3 separate regions of the Homo sapiens genome follow, and all the other regions are linked to region 1. Evidence: promoter capture Hi-C in 16 types of primary human blood cells and fetal thymus (Javierre and others, 2016). All regions are on one chromosome and are shown on one strand. Each heading gives the region's core, a stretch centred on a gene start or on the middle of the fragment in contact. The rest is flanking DNA. Distances are from core to core; before and after follow the strand shown.

Region 1 (2,556 bases), core at 15-2,514:
GTCTCAAGCCTGTCATCCTAACACTTTGGGAGGCTGAGGCAGGCAGATCACTTGAGGTCAGGAGTTTGAGACCAGCCTGGCCAACATGGTGAAACCCTGTCTCTAATAAAAATACAAAAACTAGCCGGGCATGGTGGCGTGCACCTGTAGTCCCAGTACTCGGGAGGCTGAGCCAGGAGGTTGCTTGAACCCAGTAGGAGGAGGTTGCGGTGCACTGAGATGTCACCACGCACTGTAGCCTGGATGACGAGACCCTGTCTCAAAAAAAAAAAAAAATTGTGTGTGTTGGCTGGGTGAGGTGGCTCATGCCTGTAAACCCAACACTTCGGAAGGGCAAGGCGAATAAATCACTTGAGCTTAGGAGTTCGAGACCAGCCTGGGCAACATGGTGAAAATCCATCTCTATAAAAAATACAGAAATTAGCCAGCGTGGTGGTAAGTTACTGTAGTCCCAGCTACTCTTGAGGCTGAGGTGGAAGGATCACCTGAGCCTGGGAGGTTAAAGCTGCAGTGAGCCTTGATCATGCCACTGCACTCCAGCCTGGATGATGAAGCCAGACCCTGTCTCAACAAAAGGAGAAAGAAACAAAGAAAGAAAACACGTGTGTGTTGATGTAATCTCACTAAAAATAGTGTGAACTATATAAATTAGTTTTAAACAGGTCCCTTAGCCTGCTCCCACTGTTGCCCCAAACAGACTGGGACCCTTAACTTCCCTTTATATAAATCCAGAGCCCCTGCTACCTAAGCCATTCTCAAGACAGCCAGCCCTGGGTCCCAGCAGGTCACACTCAGTCCCTCTCCCCTCCCTTAGCCTAGAAGGGGCAGGGCCAGCTTGTGCTTTGCTTTCAGTTCCCTGCACCTGAGCACTAGGCTGCAGGCTCAGCTTACCTGCAGCAGCCACAGCAGCAGCACTAGAAGCAGCAGCAGCGAGGGGTGCCTCCCGGATCTCATGGCCATATGGGAATACCCAAGACAGACCCAGAACGTGCAGCTGATGACCAGTCCTCCAAGCTGGTGGTCTCACCGGAGCCACACACCTCCTTCTCAGCCAGCAGCTTCTTCTCTAAAGGTTTTCAGGTCACTTTGGCCCAGATGCTTTCATCCCATCTTGCTCCTCCCTTTTCAGCTTTTCTTGCATTTATCAGAGTGGGGTGGGCTGACTTGTAAGCTTGAACATACGTTTGCCACAAGTAGAGTTCCTAGGAAGGGTGGGGTAGAAACTAAAGCCACCATGGTCCTGCACGTACACAAAAGACTGGCTGGGGTCTGACCTCAGGAACAACAGCTCAGCCAGCGGAAGTAAAACCAGCACCTATCGGAAAGCAGAATTATTTGTTTCTTTGTTTCCTTGTTTGTTCTGGTTTCCAAATAGAAGGTCCAATCATCTCTTTCTATAGCAGGATATGTTAGTGACTATTTTCTATAATCTTATCCTCTTGAACCAAACAAAAAAAACTAGAAAATGACAAGAATGATAACTTTATTAAGGGGGAAGGGATGGGGAAGAATGAAAGAAAAGAAAAATCAACTTTTACTTTCCAAAGCACTAAAAATCGTTATTCCAACAATATCCCAGGGCTCTGGGGTTTTCAAATTATTTCTACTAAAACCTTTTTTAAGCTTAGATTAATCTGCCTTTTTGAGTTTGGAATTAAAGTGGGAGGGAGGAGAGATGGGAAAGAGCCTCCCTATGGACAGGGATCTCTGTGGCAACCCGGGAGTCTTTGCATGAGAATTCTGAAAGAGACAATTTGAGATTATATTATACCAATACTTAAGGTTGCAGTAAGCAAGTTTTAAAACACAATCTGTGATACATTAACCCTGATTACCTTAACATGACCTTTTTATCACATTACCTTGTTTAAAGTAGTAAACAGATAAAATAAAAGGTAAACTTTCTTTGCTTGTTCTAGATATTGGCTTAGGCAAGGATTTCATGACCAAGAACCAAAAAGCAAATGCAATAAAATCAAAGATAAATAGCTGGGACCTAATTAAACTAAAGAGCTTTTGCACTGCAAAAGGAACAGTCAGCAGAGTAAACAGACAACCCACAGAGTGGGAGAAAATCTTCACAATCTATACATCTGACAAAGGATTAATATCCAGAATCCACAATGAACTCCAACAAATCAGTAAGAAAAAAACAATCCCATCAAAAAGTGGGATAAGGACATGAATAGACAATTCTCAAAAGAAGATATACAAATGGTCAACAAGCATATGAAAAAATGCTCAACATCACCAATGATCAGCAAAACGCAAATCAAAACCGCAGTGCGATACCACCTTACTCCTGCAAGAATGACCATAATCAAAAAATCAAAAAACAGTAGACGTTGGTGTGGATGTGACAATCAGGGAACACTTCTACACTGCTGGGGGGAATATAACATAGTACAGCTGCTATGGAAAACAGTGTGGAGATTCCTTAAAGAACAAAAGTAGAACTACCATTTGATCCAGCAATCCCACTACTGGGTATCTTCCCAGAGGAAAAGAAGTCATTATTCGAAAAAGATACTTGCACATGCACGTTTATAGCAGCAA
Region 2 (2,556 bases), core at 28-2,527, 1.3 Mb before region 1:
CCACTGACCACAGCTCCCTCTTGCGATGGAAGGCAGAGCTGTGAGAAGCAGCTGCACACAGGGGCAAGTGGCTGTGCAGAGCCCGGGGCGGCAGTGTTCTGCCTCGCTTTATTTCTAACCAGGGCTACCAGGACCCTCTCTCAGAGTGGGATTTGGCCTGCAGATGATGCACCATGCAGCGCTTTCTGTGCTTTATTCCTGGGCCGCTCCTACCTTTTATCTGATAGCAACCACTTTCTAAAGACAGGATATATACTTCCCTTTCTGAACCTCTTAACCCTGGGACCAGACAAAACTATAAGAGGGAAAAGCTGCTGGAAACCTCAAACAATAACGGCCCCTTGAAAAGGCAAGGACCACCCCCAGAGATGGCCAAAGAGATCCCACGGTCTCCCTCATGGGCTCTGCGTGCCCATTTTTGGGGATCCCTGAAGTGACCACCCATGGAGGCAGTGGGGGTCTGGGTGCTCAGAAAGAAGTAGTCCTCTGACTTTGACAGCAAGAAAGTCTGGGCTTTGAGCTCACCCAAGCCACCAGTGGGGTCTGAGTCCCACCCAGCCTTCACATAATTCTGCTTCGCTACAGAGACCAAGGTTCCCTAGAACCAGTAGATATTGTGACCAGAGGCAAAACCCCCAATACATAACTCCTGACTTCCTGGAGAAGCATCACTATGAGATCCAGCAAAGAGTTTACATTCTCTGGTGGGGGTTCAGATAGTCCCGGCTTAATATATCTAAGGGTTCTTTCATCTCCTGGGCATAAGACAGCGTGGAGTAGTGACTGTTCATTTATTCAACAAACAGTTACCAAGTATTCATGACATGCTCTCTGCAATCCAGTGTGCTAGGTGCAGACATCAATTCACAAAAGGAGCAGAGGAGGGCCTTTAAAGCAAGAGCAAGTGGCCAAGGTCCAAGGAACACTGGAGGGTAGAGGGAGCCTGAAAACCTAGGCTCAGGACAGAGTTTGACTTTGCTAGTGTGCAGTTTTCCTAAGTCAGGGAATGCACGAGGCTGCATGTGACAACAAAACCAAGCGTGGTGTTTTGACCTTATTTTTCTCACCACTCAGGAGACAATGAGTCCAGGGCTCTGCCATTGTTTGAGGATGCCTTCTGGGACCCAATTTGTGTTCCACCATCCTCAAACTCACAAAATGGCTGCTTTCCCTCAGCCATCACATCTGAGTTCCAGGTAGGAGGAAGAAGTAAGAGCAAAGGGTGGAAGGCATGGCCAGCTCAGTTTGTTCCTTGTTATCAAGAATAAAAACAGCTTTCCCCAAAGCCTAACCTAATAGACTAACCTAATTAGATACCGGTGACCAGAAAGAAGCCACATTGCCACATTGGTGTAAATGAGTCTAGAGGTGTATTAAACAGGGCACATTGTCAGCCAATGGACTAGCACAGATGAGGTTTGTTGGCAAGGGAGAGAGAGAGAGAGAATCAATACTGGACAGGCAACTTCCAGTGTCTAATAATTCCAGGCATATGTGGTTGGCTTATCATTAGTGCCACTTATGGGAATATTCATAGCAGCTCCCTGTCTGCTGTGAGTTAACCAAAGCGACTCGGAAACACGAACAGTGTCAGTATTTTCCGGCTCATTCATTACTTTATTTGACTAATACTGACTTCACAGCCACCATGCATTAGGCCGGTGCTGGACATCGGCTATGCAGGGAGATGGGATGACATTCTTGCCTGTGTATCTAGCATGTGTCTGCCCTGGAAGAGTTGCCTATCTATGCAGAGGTGGTTCAAACCAAACTGCATGGGCAAAGAGCCTATCTTCAACCTACTTGTAAAGACAAGATAATAGTACTTCTGGCCATGCAGTGTGGCAGAAATGGCAGATTCTTAGATATGGATTCCAGACACTGCATCTGATCTCTCTTCAACCATGCCTCTGTCTGAATGCCTTTGTATGCAAATGAGTCATTCACTCATTCAGCAATTCACTGTCTGTCAACTCTGCTTCGGGTACAGCACTGGGCACTGGGGAAGGTCTACTCAGCATCCATCCCTCCTTCTTCCTTCCTAAAACAAAGCCCCAATTCTGTTCTGAGACGAGCAATTTGGACACCTACCATGTGATGGATTATAATGGATCTAAGACACACATGACAATGCAATTCTCTGCATTCCCAGTGCTCCACCCCCATCAGTTTAGCTAAGAGTGGCCTGTGACCTAGTCAATGAAAACTTCTGCAGGGATTCTGAGAAAGTGTTTGTCTTCCTGGTACAGGGAAGAAATGCAGATGGTGCTACTATCTGCACCTTCTTCTGCTCTGAACTCAGAAGCAACGACTGGAACCACAGCAGCCAGTTTGCAGTGACGAGGCACTAAATGACACACTAAAGATGGCAGAATGGAAGAAGAGGATTAGGCAGGCACATGACCGTGTCCCTTGTCTGCTGTTCCAGCATGTGACCACCTATGTCTGCACTCACGGTTATGTAAGAAAAATTTACTCCCATTTATTTAAGATTATGTGAATTGGGTTTTATTCTGTTGGCCAAGAACATCCTGAAATGATATAAATAGAAATAAG
Region 3 (2,556 bases), core at 25-2,524, 1.2 Mb before region 1:
TTTTTGCCTTCTTGTTAAACCAATTGCTGAGAGAGAAGTATTCAAGGCTCCAGCTGTAACTGTAAATTTTGCTGTCACTTTCAAATAAATCAGTTTTTGCTTCACGTATTTTAAAGCTGTGTTGTTAGTATTGTCTCTTGTGGGAGACTTGATTCTTTTATAATTATGTATTATCACTCTTTATCTCTGATAATATTCCTTGTTCTACATTCTGCATTGTATGGAATTATTACAGTTGCTCCAGCTTTCTGTAGCTTGTGTTGGCAAGATCTATCACTCTCCATGCTTCTACTTTTGATATTTCTATGTCTTTAAATTTAAAATAAATGTCATGTGGACAGCATATTGTTGAGTCTTTTTTTTCATTCAACCTGGCAATCTCTGTCTTTTAACTGCTGTGTTTAGATCATTCACATTTAAAATGGTTATCAATATAACTGGATTAAAACTACCATCTTGCCAGCTGTTGTCTAGTTGTTTCATTTGTTATTTGTTTATTCCCCCTTGTTGTCTTCTCTAGATTTGATGGACTATTTTTATAATTTCTTTTCACTTCCTCTATTAATTATTTATCTCACTTGATGTTTTAATATTTGCCCTGGTATTTATAATATGTACTTTAAAAAATCTAAGGTCTTCTTCAAATAATAGTATACTAATTTGTATGAAGTGCAAGGGCCTCTGTATGTTTCTAAGTCCTTTTCTCATCCTTTGTGCCATAGCTGTCGTGGATTTCACTTTTTTTTGTTGTTGCATATGCTGTAAGCACACAGTAGTGGGCATGCTTGTAAGACAGCGCAAACCCCATCCATGCTTCTAGTCCTAGGGCTTTACACTTTCCCATACTTGGCTTTAAGCAATTAGTTAAGAATTCATAGCTGGATTTTATTACCAGTGTATGTAGAATCAGGCAACATCTGCTCCAAGTAAATGAATGCTTGGTTCTTCTTTTTCTCCGCAAGCATCTGTCTCTCCCCAGGTTTGGGGCGTTTTGTTTGCTCTGCAACTTCAGTTCTTTTATGATATCAGGAAAAGTCAGTGGTTTGCAGTTTGTTCAGTTCTTTACTCATTGTAAAGGTGGAAGCAGTACCCTTTCCAGATCTCTTTGTCACTTCAAAATCTGAAGTCCTGGACTCCACTTTGTTTGAACTGTATTTTACCATCTCTCGGTGTACTCAAGTTTTATCATAGAAACTTGGTCTTATCTGGCTATCTGCCTGGCGCATCTTTTAAGAAACTGTTAGAGGGTAACTGCCAAGACTTGTGAACACCTACCAATTGTATCTCACACCAAAAACTTGCAAATGATATCTTACCTTTCCATTACCTTGAAGATTCCTTTCTCTGCAAAAAAATTCTCAAGAATCCTCCAAGGTGCCCTTAGAATGGCAATAATGCTTAGAATCAGGGAGATCTGGGTTCAAATTTGTGATTCACCACTTCTAGTTGAACCACAATGTTGACATTCTTGATTTCTCCAAGTCTTCCTAGAGTGGGGGTGATCACGATGTGGAATTGTGCATATGAAAGGAATTTTCACATACATGACAACCTATGCAGCCACCATTTTGTTTTATCTTAGGTAGTTACTCCCAGTAAGTAACAACTATTTGAGTAACTCAGTAAATGCCTCAAGCACATTTGTTTCTGTAGGAAGGATTCTTTGGTAGACTTCCATGAAACACTAAATCTTTTTTTTTTTAATCACAGAATGGCCAAATCATCACCTCTTGCAGGCTTTACCCTTCCCTACAGGTCACAGCTGCTCTTTGTCCATTGCTCTCCAAGCCAGTCCATGCCTCCCCAGTTAACTCAGATGTCCAAGCTCTAAATCTAGGAGCCATTCCTGATTCTTCTTTCTTCTTCACCCTCATATCTGGTTTTTCTCCAAATGATATCTCCCTCCCTTTCAAAACGACCAGCACCTTCCATTAGAACTGCTCCATCACCTGTGAACTTGCGTTTCCTCCAAGCTCTTCTCCACTCTGTTGCCAAGTGCTCTTCCTAAGATAGAGTCCTGGCTCCTCAGGGCTGTACGCCTTTGTTGGCTTCCCAAACATTTGAGCTCCCTGCCACTGTCCCTGGGCAGATTCCCTTCTTGTGTTCCATTAGCGTCCATGCCTCCACTTCATGCCTCTCTCTTCTCCTGGACTTGGAGGTTTCCCTTGTTCACTACTTCATCCCCCACAACTAGCTGAGACATTGCCACCAGCTTTCAGAAGGCACTCAATAAACATTGGATAAGTAAATGAACGAATGAGTTTGTGAGTGAGTACATGATGGTAATCTTATATTGTGGAAAAGAGGATCAGACTTTAGAGAGGAAGAATATGAGCACCAACAGTCAGTGCTGCCACAGCCCCTGCCATGTGCTCAGCACTGTTTTTAGATACTTGACTTAGCACATGCCAAGCCTATGAGGCAGGTGCTATTATGTTCATTTTACAGAAGACAAAATTGAGATACTAATTTACAAAAGTCATAAAGTAAGTTGCATGTACACTTAGAGAAATTTATAGAACTGGCTCAAAATGACGCCTTAATTTTATACTACAC

Evidence for each region. Contacts are between HindIII fragments. The CHiCAGO score rates a contact against its expected background, and 5 or more counts as called.
Region 2: a fragment that was not itself captured here is called in contact with the fragment with the promoter of CDH26 in region 1 in 2 of 17 cell types (total CD8 T cells and naive CD8 T cells); the score reaches 5.3 in total CD8 T cells.
Region 3: a contact is called between a fragment that was not itself captured here and the fragment with the promoter of CDH26 in region 1, in 1 of 17 cell types (total CD4 T cells). The highest score is 6.2, in total CD4 T cells.

The regions. Positions count from the first base shown.
Region 1 is chr20:59,957,131-59,959,686 of GRCh38, reverse strand. CDH26 (cadherin 26) reads right to left here and starts at 1,264. Exons shown (of 18, transcript NM_177980.4): 1 at 892-1,264. The coding sequence starts at 960. The HindIII fragment of the contact is 452 bases long and covers 1,174-1,625 here.
Region 2 is chr20:61,258,557-61,261,112 of GRCh38, reverse strand. All of the region lies in intron 2 of CDH4 (cadherin 4), which reads right to left. Among named protein-coding and RNA genes, the nearest start is that of CDH4, 7.6 kb to the right of the region's middle. The HindIII fragment of the contact is 5,359 bases long and covers 1-2,556 here.
Region 3 is chr20:61,198,685-61,201,240 of GRCh38, reverse strand. No RefSeq gene overlaps it. Among named protein-coding and RNA genes, the nearest start is that of CDH4, 52 kb to the left of the region's middle. The HindIII fragment of the contact is 3,444 bases long and covers 1-2,556 here.